Regions from separate parts of the Homo sapiens genome. Here region 1 is linked to region 2. The links are contacts of gene promoters, found by promoter capture Hi-C in blood cells and fetal thymus (Javierre and others, 2016). All regions are on one chromosome and are shown on one strand. The core of a region is centred on a gene start or on the middle of the fragment in contact, and the rest is flanking DNA. Distances in the headings are between cores, read along the strand shown. Region 1 has its middle 180 kb from the start of VIPR2. Region 2 holds the start of VIPR2 (vasoactive intestinal peptide receptor 2).

Evidence for each region. The method cuts DNA at HindIII sites, captures the fragments that hold promoters and counts their contacts. A CHiCAGO score of 5 or more calls a contact.
Region 1: a contact is called between a fragment that was not itself captured here and the fragment with the promoter of VIPR2 in region 2, in 1 of 17 cell types (total CD8 T cells). The highest score is 5.0, in total CD8 T cells.

What each region holds. Positions count from the first base shown.
Region 1 is chr7:159,317,768-159,323,508 of GRCh38, reverse strand. No RefSeq gene overlaps it. Among named protein-coding and RNA genes, the nearest start is that of VIPR2, 180 kb to the right of the region's middle. The HindIII fragment of the contact is 1,241 bases long and covers 2,867-4,107 here.
Region 2 is chr7:159,142,008-159,148,253 of GRCh38, reverse strand. It overlaps VIPR2 (vasoactive intestinal peptide receptor 2), which reads left to right and starts at 3,387. Exons shown (of 13, transcript NM_003382.5): 1 at 3,387-3,533; 2 at 5,709-5,808. The coding sequence starts at 3,483. RefSeq lists an enhancer at 390-1,589. The HindIII fragment of the contact is 10,716 bases long and covers 1-5,254 here.

The DNA of each region.
Region 1 (5,741 bases), core at 2,238-4,737, 180 kb before region 2:
GTTATACATAACTTTCTTTTGGGATTTTCTTTTAATTTTTTTTTTGTACGTGCAATACAGTTCAAATGACATAAACAGTTTTACTTTATATAGTGCTAGACTTCCTCTCAGAAACATTAATGTTACTGAGAATGTACAAACATGCCTCCATGTTTACAAACATGTTATTTTATCATTCTTACTTACATGTGCTAGTTTAGGGAATAATTGTTCATAATTTTTAGTTATTCTCATTTCTATTTCTTTATCCCTCCCTGGGAAGGCTGTGAGTCCGAGGTACTATTGGGAGTGCATCATTTTCTCCTCTTGGCAGAAAAGCCATTCTCCTGCAACTGGGGAGGCCATTGACCTGGAAGGAGTCCATGGCTTCAAGAATGAGTATGAGCCCATTTCAGCCCCCATCCCAAGTCTCCACGCCCTTGTGAGTCTCACTGGTGCTGCTCCTCCATCTGGTGCTATTCCTGGACCAAACTGGGGATCGGACCGCTATTTCTGGTTGCCCAATAATAAGATGCAGATGAACTGCGGAGGAAGTGAGTTTTTATTTCTGTAACCAGTTACATGGAGAAGGCCTGGAAAATATCTCCAGACCAACTCAAAATTACAAAGTCTTCCAGAGCTTATATATATTCTAAGCTATATGGCTATGTGTAAATATGCATTCATCTAAAGACATAAGTGATTAACTACTTTAAATCTATAACCAAGATCCGAGTCTTGAAGACCTCCCCCTGGAGCTTCAGTAAATTTACTTAATCTAAGTGGATCCAGGTGGTGGGGTGATTACCCTTATTTTGTCTCCTGCTGAATTATGGAGATTTGGGGAGTTCCTTCACAGGACCTGAACACAGTTCTGTTTGTTTGATGATACTCACCACTATCCTGGAGACGGACAACAGAAGCACCTGGACGGGCTCTGTTCATTTGGTGATGCTCGCCACCATCCAGGAGACTGAGAGCAGCAGCACCTGGACAGACTGGCCAGGGCCTGAGATCTTCCACAGCCTGGTTCCCAGCTTGTCACAACTTATAGGAGGAAAACAGGCCCCTTACAGCAGCACACTTATGACAGGGTAGACCTTTTACTTTCTGGAATTTTTTGTAAAGTTTATGGAATAATCAGAAAATGTAGATTTGCCTGTTTCCTGAATTTTTTTTTGTTCTGTGGCACTCATATTTTTTAAGGTGAAGAAAGCACAGAGTGGAGGCAAAGATAGGACACAAAAGACATATTTGTCAGCAATACCCAACGCAGCTGTTTTCAGTTTAAATTCTTAGAGTTTTTAGACAAACTATTATTGAGAAGCCCAATGTATAAGACTTAAGAAAATATAAAAGGGCTGGGACCCTAGAGTCCTGCTACCTCACTCCTCTGAGCCCTGATGGTTTCTCAGGGAAGAGTTTGAAAACCACAATCCTGTTGTTTTCCTTTTTATCTTTCATTTTAAATATAATTGTTTAGAATTATGTTAACCCATTTTATTTTGGTTGTGAAAAGATAGTGAACTAATGACTAATAGTTGACTATCCAGTTCAACTATTTCACAGATAACTTTGCCAAATTCACAGAGTTTGTCAGTGATAAAACTGGACCTGGGACCCAGGTTCCCTGACGTGCAGCCACTGAATATCCCACAATTCCTGATGTCCATTAGCTTTGACTGAAAAAAAACCCACATAATTTATTGGGAAAAAGACCATAGTAAACTCCAGTTTTAGTCATCTCTATTTCAAAATTTGTAATTATGTCTTCACTGTAGTTATAAATTCATCTTAGTTGTTTGTTGGTTGTATTATACTTTTGTTGATATGCTTTTCTGATCTTCATTAAGGTGATGGCCAGTCATAGATTATTGTTTACAGCCAACACCATAATTGTCTATTTTAATAATGGTAAATAATGAAACCCAGTGCAAATCTGTCAAAGCACAGGCCATTTGACCCAGCCTTGCAACCCCCATAGCTACATTTTCAGTCACGTGGACTGACAGGTGGTTACACTTCACACTGAATATACACAAATGCATGACTGACACTTCCCATTTGGGCCTCCCAGGGTGACTTGTTCTGGTTTTCACCTTCCCCACTTGATCTTATGTAGTAAGGAGGCAAGAAATGCCCAAGCAACTCAAATTCTGTTTTACCTGTTTGAACCATAACTATTGAGACAGACTGAAGTGTTTGAAGGAATGACATAGAAGGTCTATGGATTTTTGCGTGGTGCATGTGATGCCATCAAATTAGATTCCTCCCTTGTGTGTCCATAGACCTGTGCTTTAAAAGACCTTTCAAATGGAGAAAAACAAAAACCATGGGTGGAGATGCTGCGAAACAGCTCTGCTCAAACAGGCTTCCATCCCTGCTGCACAGCTCTCCCAGCCTCTTCCCTGCTCTATTCTCAAGGTCTTGGCCCTCAGCTCAACAACTCATTCTTGCAAGAGTCAGCTGAATAATTAGCAATGCCAAACAGAGTGAGTCATGGGAGGTAGCTGCTTCTCAGGAATATCTGTGTTCTGACATATACATATATTTTTTTTCTTTTTTTTTTTTTGAGATGGAGTCTCACTCTGTCACCCAGGCTGGAGTGCAGTGGCATGATCTCAGCTCACTGCAACCTCTGCCTCCCAGGGTCAAGCGATTCTCCCGCCTCAGCCTCCCAGGTAGATGGGATTACAGGTACCCACCACCAAGCCCGGCTAATTTTTGTATTTTTAGTAGAGACAGGGTTTCACCATATTGGTCAGGCTGGTCTCGAACTCCTGACCTCACGTGATCTGCCTGCCTTGGTCTGCCACAGTGCTGGGATTACAGGCATGAGCCACCAGGCCCAGCCAGATATGTTTTTAAATAGTGGTAATACAAAGCTTTTAAATTCCATTATGCACATCTCTAACATGATGGCAGGTGTAGAAATTGATATCTCAGTGCAGAGAGCCTGTGAAACATAGTAGTGCTAGCCCAAGCTCACTGCAAGTGAAGGTGGGGAAGTCATAACCCAGTACAGAAGAGTTAGACTATGGGTAATGAGGTTTCTGCAGAACCTCCAAGATAATGCAGAGACATTCAGTTAAGAGCATTGGGGATTTACCTGTATACAGGTATATGCTGAGACAGGTCCCAGTGAGGACAACCTCTCCACCATGGTCTCACACTCCTGAAAGCAAACCCATGAGGTATGATGAGGGAAAGTGGTTTGTTCAAATAGGTCTTTGGTTTGTCAGTTTAAAACTGGTTACCACAGAGTTCAGTGTGGGTCACCTGCTGGAACTTTAGTCTGTCTGTGGATTTTAGGGACTGGCTGAAACTTCACATTTAGAAAGTCAATCCAGATGATACAGTTGAGTCACAGACCACAAGCAGTCATGTCGGGCTGTTTCTCTGCCGACCCTGATCAGCTCTCTGAGTGTGGCTATTGTTCACGGTCCTGACCACTTGGTTTGTGTAATTTCTTGCACCCTCCGGATTAAAAATTCTGAGAATCCATAATTTCATTAAACTCAGGTTTTATCCTATCCAAGATTTATTCCAAATGACAGCGTGCTGGAGTCATGCTAGGACATGCTAGTCAGTGCTGGGGCTAGAGTGACTCACTGCTGCACTGTGCTCCCCTCCTTCCTGTGTTGGGGGCTCCACTTTTACCCCTGTCCTCTTCCCACATCCCAAACTCCCACCTGGCCCCTAACTGTTCAAGGGATCACAATCAGGGCATGTCTCCCACATGGCTTCAGATGCAAAAAATTAACCCCCCCACCAAGTAAAAGCATATTGACCTCACATTTCATTTTCCAAGAGCTCAGTCTTTTGCTAAATAATTGGAGATCAAGTTTCTGGCTATTAACAAATACAAAGGCATTACTAATGGAAACTCTTAATATATGACCACCTCCTAAACTTTTTTACGTTTTGAAAGAAAAATTCCTGGGACAAATGTCTAAGCCCCAAAGAAATAGCTCTCCTGAGTTGCATATTGAGGCACTCAGGCAGAACTGATAGAGGCATCATTGTTAATACAGTAACAACAGATACAAATCCCGGAGTATAATTACATGTCAGGCCCTATACTAAGTGCTTCTTATGTAATATATCAGGAAATTATCATGAGAAGCTTATGAGGCAGATATTATTATTCCTGTTTGTACAGATAGAAAAAAAGATGCCCAACAATGTTAAGTAGACTGCATAGGTCATACAGCTAACAAATGGCAGAATTGGGCCAAACATTTAACATCCACATGTTAGTGTCTTTTAGCAAGAGATTTTCTACAGAGAAGTCAAATTAGATCACAGGTATTTGCCTCTTGTGCTTAAACAGGCTCTTATCAGAGCTAGCCTTTGGCTTTTTTCCATGAGAACATTTTACTGAGTTTATTTTGCTATCTTGATCTACAATGCCTAGGAACTCTAAGAACCGGGGATGGAAAGAAAGTCCACTCCCTGAGATGATTTCTTGTCACCTTTTGGCTACATCCTGGATCTCAGAACCAGGCCTGCTTTTCCTGGCTATACATGGCAAATCCAACTGAGAAATTTAAATGTTTGTTTTATGTTTGAGAAACAGGACCTAATATGAATGTTTGTTCTAGTTGTGTTGACTTAATGCTGATAGAGTTAAATTTGAGCTCTCAGGATCTATTTTTGTACTCTTTGTCAAACGTGTTCCTTCTCCATTGGTCTCCATTGGCTTGCAGTAGTGGTGCTGCTCTGTGTCTATTTCACACCTTAGAGCTCCATTTATTAATGCCTTCAGAATCTTCTTTATGTGCCTTCTATTTTCTTTGTGTGATGCGTGGGGCAGAGTCAGCTCTGGCTAAAATGTCAAAACGAAGAATCCTTAGTGCAGCTCATGTATCCATGCTGAGTAAATGCCAAGAGTGGCTGTGAACCTTCCCTTGACTCTCCTCCACAGCTGCCACTCAACCAAGACCCTGCATTCTAAGGGTAGTCAGTCTGTTAGTCACATGGAACTAATGCACAAGAAGATTGGATGGATTATGAGAAGCTAAACTTTCCCAAGAATATTTACATTTTTAAAGAGGGAATATGTCACAATAAATGAGCTCCTGCCTGATAAACATCCTGCCTAAAACCCTTCCAACCTATTGTTGCTTTGCTTCAAGAAGAATACAATGATTGGTGGAGCTTGAGGCAAAGCGACAAAGCTTGAGGAAAGGTTTTAGGCAAGATGTTTATACTTCTCTTGTACTTCTCAAGTTAGTTATTGTACTTTTCCACTCCAGAATTTCTGTTTCTTAATAATTTCAATTGTGTTATATTTTCTATTTGGTATGACATTATTCTCATGCTTTCCTTCAGTTCTTTAAGAATTTTTTAAAATTTCTTTGAGTAGATTGGGAATATCTGGTTTAAAGTCTTTCATGAGTAAGTTCATCATGTGAGCTTCCACAGGGACACTTTCCATTGATTGCTTTTTCCTCCTGCATATGGGCTGTACTTTCTTGTTTCTTTTTGCGTCTTGCAATTTTTTCTTAAAAATTGACATTTTAAATATTATAGTGTGAAAACCCCAGGAATCAGATTTTGCAACTTCCCCAGGGTTTGTTATTGTTGCTGGGGCATTTTTTGGTAGCTTTTATTGTTTGTTTACTGACTTTAAAGAAATAATTCTGCCAAGTCTGTATTCTCTTTCATATATGAGGACTGAAGTCTCTACTTGGCTAGCTTAAAGGTCAGATAATGAATGGATAGTGATTTCCTTAAGTGCTTGGAACCAATAAGTCTTT
Region 2 (6,246 bases), core at 2,138-4,637:
CTTGTGGATGAAGCCTCCGGCTAGCAGGCTTCAGAGAGAGTGAATGTGAATGTCTACTATCAGGGCCTTGAAAGGTGTCAGACTCTCCAGAAAGACCTAGTGACGGACAGGGATTCTCCACAGAGTGCAAGATTCCCCAACAGACAGCTTTGCTGGGCCATTTCAAAATCTGTCAAAGAAATATATTTCTTCAGGGCCTGCTGGCCGTCATGTGATGCTCTACTAGAGTCTGGTGGGAATTTGCTATCTTATTGCTATGAACAGTCTGTTTGGTCAGCCTTAGGAGCTCTGTTTTTATGTTAATGTTGGTCATGAACTCCAGGAAAGGAGGGTGTAGTGAGGCCTGCCCAACCCCCTCTCCCTGTCATGGCCTGAACTCGTTTTTCAGGTTTCTTTGGGATCCCTTTGGCCAAGAGGGGAGTCCATTAAGTTGGTTGGGGGGCTTAGAATTTTATCTTTTGTTTACAAAGGCATATTGAGAACTTTGGTCATTTTTCTAAGAGCATCAGGTAACCGCAGGGTTTGGGGTGTTCAGCAAAGCCCGTGATTACACACACACTGGACCTTCAGAGAAGTGTGCCATCTAGCTACGACCACAGCCATTTCTCCTGGTCTACCCCGTCCATCGGGACGCACTGCTGCAGGGGAAGACTCACCCATCATGCAACCCCTCACTGCACCCTGGACAGTCACTTCTAAAATGCAGGCCCTCAACAAGGTATTGACGTGTGCATTAATCACCTTGATTATTACAGAGCCCCTCTGCGGTGGAAGGGCAGGTGCTGTCATTCCTACAAATGCATAGAGCTCAAAGTTCATCGCTCACCCAGGTGGAACCGGGAGAAAAAGATGCGTTTGTCGAAGGCACCCAGCGCCACGAGCTTTCTTCACAAGCCAAGCAGCCCGCCTAAGGCCCAGGTCTCCCTCTCCTCGTCTCCCACTAGATACACATGGATGAAGCCAGATAGATAACAGGTAGAGGATAGATGACAGGCAGATGACAGATAGGCAGATGATAGATGATCGATAGATGACAGGCAGATGATGGATGACAGGCAGATCACAGATATGATAGATCACAGATAGATGACAAATAGGCAGATGATAGATGACAGGCAGATGACAGATAGGCAGATGATAGATGACTGATAGATGACAGGCAGATCACAGATATGATAGATCACAGATAGATGACAAATAGGCAGATGATAGATGACAGGCAGATGACAGATAGGCAGATGATAGATGACTGATAGATGACAGGCAGATCACAGATATGATAGATCACAGATAGATGACAAATAGGCAGATGATAGATGACTGATAGATGACAGGCAGATCACAGATATGATAGATCACAGATAGATGATAAATAGGCAGATGATAGATGACAGGCAGATGACAGATAGGCAGATGATAGACTGATAGATGACAGGCAGATGACAGATAGGCAGATGATAGATTGATAGATGACAGGCAGATGACAGATAGGCAGATGATAGGTGATTGATAGATGCCAGCCAGATGACAGATAGGCAGATGATAGGTGATTGATAGATGACAGCCAGGTAGATCACAGATATGCCGGATCACAGATGATGGATAGGCAGATGATAGATGACAGATAATAGATGATAGATTACAGATAGACGATCGATAGGAAGATAATAGATGATAGGTACATGACAGATCATAGATAAATGACAGAGAGGTAGATGATAGATGATAAATAGGTAGATGGTAGGTAATAGATAGGTAATAGATCGCAGAGAGATGATAGGTAGATGATAGCTGATTGATACATGATACAGAGATGATAGGTACATGATAGATGGATAGATCATAAATGACAGCAGATGATAGATGATAAATAGGTAGATGACAGGTTATAGATAGGTAAATTACAGATGAAAGATAGGCAAATGATAGATGATAGGTACATAATAGATGGATAGATCATAGATAATAGATGACAGGTAGGTGATAGAGGAAAGGTGGATGATAGATGATAGGCGCATGATGATAGATACCTGACAGATGGATAGATGAAAGGTAGATGATGGACAGGTAGATGATAGATGACAGATAATAGATGACAGATTACAGATAGATGATCGATAGGAAGATGATAGATGATAGGTACATGACAGATCGATAGATGATACGTAGATGATGGATAGGTAGATGATAGATAATGTGGATGATAAACATCAGATGATAGAAAAATCGATATCTGTGAATACGGGGGGTGGGGGATCAGAGAGAAGCAAATGATAAGCCCAATGAGGTAAATGTTAATGACCGAATCCACAAAAAGGATAAAAAGGAGTTATTTGTAATATTCTTATTCTTCTAATTTTTGTGTAAGTTTGAAATTATTTCCAAATAAAAAATTAAAACAACACGAACTTAACTTGTATCTCTCATTCCAGTGCTTTCCACTTGCTGGGGAACGCCGAGCTCTCCTGGGTTGGTCACGCGGGCGCCTTGGGAGGCCGCGCAGTCCCGCGTGGGGCGCGGCGGGGCGGCCCCAGTGGCACCGCGTGAGTCCCCGCCCAGCGTTCCCCACCCGCCGCCGCGTTTGCGGGGAGAGAATGACCCCCGTTTTGCAAACGCAGGACACAAAACCCGCCACCCAGCTGAGGCTGGGACCCACCTATACCCCCGTCTGCGTTTTTCTCCAGCTTTCTGTTCGACCTGATGTCCTCTTTGAGGCTGCGGGGATCCCCACCAAAAAGCACTCTGATTTTCTCCATTTTCAGATGCCCCAACCTAGCCCCACTGGCTACAAAGACGGCGCGCCCACCCCGGACGGGTCTCTGGCCGCTTTCTTGGGCTTCCGCAGTTGTTTAGAAAGGCAGGTACAGGCGGCCGCAAAGGCATCCGCCCCTTCCGAGCGCACACCTGGCCCGGTCCTCCTCTCCCGGCCCCGCGCCGGCCGCTCTCCCCCAGTTCTCTCTACTCGGAGCCGGGCGCGCACTGAGCACCCCGCTTCCCAGCCCCTCCGCCCACAGATCGGGGAGGCGCGGCCGGGAGGGGGGCGTGGGCCAGGGAAGAGGGGAGGAGAACGGAGAGAGAGGCTGGGGGGGTCGAGGAGACCAGAGGGAGCGCGCGCGGCGGGGACAGAGAGCCCAGGGGCGAGGAGAGGGCGCGGGGCGCAGCGGAAGGGGAAGTGGGGGGCGGTGAGGAGGGGCGCGGAGCGGGGGTTCTCGGGGGAGGAGGGAGACGAGGATTGGGGCAGCGCGGGGCGGGGACAGGGGCGGGGGGCGGAGCGGCGGGGCGCGTGGGGGACGGGCGTGCATTGAGCGCGCTCCAGCTGCCGGGACGGAGGGGGCGGCCCCCGCGCTCGGGCGCTCGGCTACAGCTGCGGGGCCCGAGGTCTCCGCGCACTCGCTCCCGGCCCATGCTGGAGGCGGCGGAACCGCGGGGACCTAGGACGGAGGCGGCGGGCGCTGGGCGGCCCCCGGCACGCTGAGCTCGGGATGCGGACGCTGCTGCCTCCCGCGCTGCTGACCTGCTGGCTGCTCGCCCCCGTGAGTGCGCCCGCGACCCCCGCCCCACGGCGCCTCGGACCCGGTTCTCCCCTTCCGAGAAGAGCGCTCCTCCCGCCGGTCTTCGCCTTCCTCCCGGGTGCTGGAGCGCGGGCGGGGTCCGGGAGAGGGAGCGGGGTCGCCCGGGGTCCGGAGCTTCCTCCCGGAGAGCGTGAAGCGCTGAGCTCCGGTCCCGCCGGGTTGCGGGACTCGGGTTGGGAGGCTGCCTGCGCCCTTCCCCGCGCCCCACCGTCCGGGGTTTGCTGGAAACGGGATCGTTTCTTCCTGGACGCGTCAACGATGAGCTCGTTCGGGGCCGTCCCGGGAGCTGGGAGCTGCGGGCGCCTGCGCGGGCTGCGCGTTTCACGGGGAGATCGGGGTTGGCGTTGGCCGCAGATGCCTCTCGGTCCCTCCCTGTACTTACTGGTTAGTTTTAGTGTCGGGGGGACGTGGCGTCGGTTAAATAAAGTTTCCTTTTGGAAATAGTTGCTTTTTCCCAAGGGCACTGGAGGAACTAACTGCTCATAAGTTTGTTGATTAAGTGCCTTCGCACATGGAGTTCTGAATTATTCCCTCTGTGAACCTTAAAAAAAAAGGAAAGAAAAAAGAAAGAAAAAAACCCGAGCCTTGTTTCTTGCTTTCCTCTTGGAGACTGAAGCGGGTTTGCGGTGCGCGCGGTTTTCGTGCGCGTCGCAGCCGAGGCAGGTCTGGATCGATCCGCGGCCCCTCCGCAGCTGGGAGGCTGCGCTGCTGACCCGACAGTGTCATTGATTAACCGGCGACGCCCGGTCTGCAGCGGGGCTCGAGCCACACTCCCTGGCCTTGCGCGGAGGCGCAGCTCGGCTTTCCTCCCTCGAGGGTGGGCGCTTTGCGGAGCGGGTCCTTGGAAAGTAACGGGTTTTATCACGGTTAATGCTGCTTTCATTGCTAAAATGTCCTAAAAGAAGTCATTGCTGTGCATATTCCAGGAACGTCAGGTATTATTAATGTCTTTTACACTTTAACAAAGTTTTTCTTTTTACATCAATATAATTTCCTTAATTCTGAAATTTAAGCCACTTACTTGTCCTGCATGAAAACAGAGGACTTGGAGCCCAAAGTCAGTGCCTGGTGCTGGTTCAGTCACGAGCAAGAAGCAAGCTCGGGGCTCTTTTAAATGGGGCTGAAGGTGGCAGAAGTTCCAGCATTGTTTTCCCCTTAATTCTGTTAGGATATTGTGTTCCTGGTTGGAACTCTCATTGACCATTTCAATAGTAAGATAACTAAACATAGATGGCCATAGTACGCCCAACAGTATGATTCTCTTTAGTTACTACTTTAGTACAAGTAGAATTTTGGTCGGTGGTGGGGGAGGGGGAAGATCAAGACCAAAAGGATGGGTGGGGGGAGCCCTCCTTAAGCCCCCAAGGGCCGCTTGGCAGGCCTGTGCTGACTTCGCGGAGGGCGTGAAGAACAAGGTAGAAACGGTGCCTTCTGAGAGGAAGCATTGTGTAGTTCTGCCTTCTTCTCACATTAGTAGACTGTTAATTACTATCTTTGTGGCACCTTTCGCTCCCCTGATGGATCCTGACTGGAAATCGCCCCCTCTTCTCTGTGGGGCCACAATGGTGTGATTCCCCCACCTCTGCCTCCCTCCTCATCTTGCTGATTTCTTTGAATATCTCTTCCACCCCAAATTCTAGTCAAAACGATTGCAGTTTTATCTGTAGTTAGAGGGTTAAGCTTTGAACATGTACCAACACCTTTAAAAATAAAGCCCTTCTATCACGGCTCTTTCCCGGGTGGAGGCCGTCCTCGGAGGAAGCGGCACAGTCCACAGGCATCCGCTTAAACCAAACCAAAGGGTGTGAAACGGAGGAGCCGGGTATGGAGAGATGAATGGAGTAAAGAGCTCTGTTGCCTCCAAATTAGTACCGATGTATTCTGTTAGTAAGTTCATTTTCCTGCTCAGAAAAAAAATTCTATTAGATTTTGTGTTTGTTTTATAATACCTTTACAAAGTAAATAGTGAAGTTTTTAAAAAATGCCAGAAAAATCAAGGTGATTGGTTTTAAATGCATTTTGGTTTGGAAGCAGTTTAAAGCTGTGAGGTTTGGGGTTGTTTTTGTAGAATTTTTGCTTGCTTTTCTTCTTCTTGTGGAATTTTTAGTTATTAATATTTCTTTTAACCGTGAACAGGTGAACAGCATTCACCCAGAATGCCGATTTCATCTGGAAATACAGGAGGAAGAAACAAAATGTGCAGAGCTTCTGAGGTCTCAAACAGAAAAACACAAAGGTAAGGCAGAGGCTTGGTGAGTAAGAACTCCCGTGACATTCTCACCCGGGAATGCGCCTCACTCAGCTGTGGTTCAGGGTCACCACCTGCATCTTAAAAAAAAAAAAAGAAAAAGAAAGGCCACTTCCCATTGTTTGTTAATGAACTACTGGTAAAACTCAGAGAGAGTTGGATAGGTAGGGTCTTCACACACACCTTTAAAAAGATAACCTTAATCCTTAGCAGTAACAGTTTCCATGGTTTGAGATGATAGCAACAGTTACTAAAACAATTTCATGGGCTTTGTTATGCTTTGCAAAAGCAGCTTCAGTTTTCCAGGGGATAAGCATTTATCTGAATTCTTGCATTTTAAATTCTTAGCTATAGGACAGATGATTTTGATCTGGTTAAGGATGGTGGGTACTTGGCAGAAAGCAAACAGGAAAATGGGACTTTGGT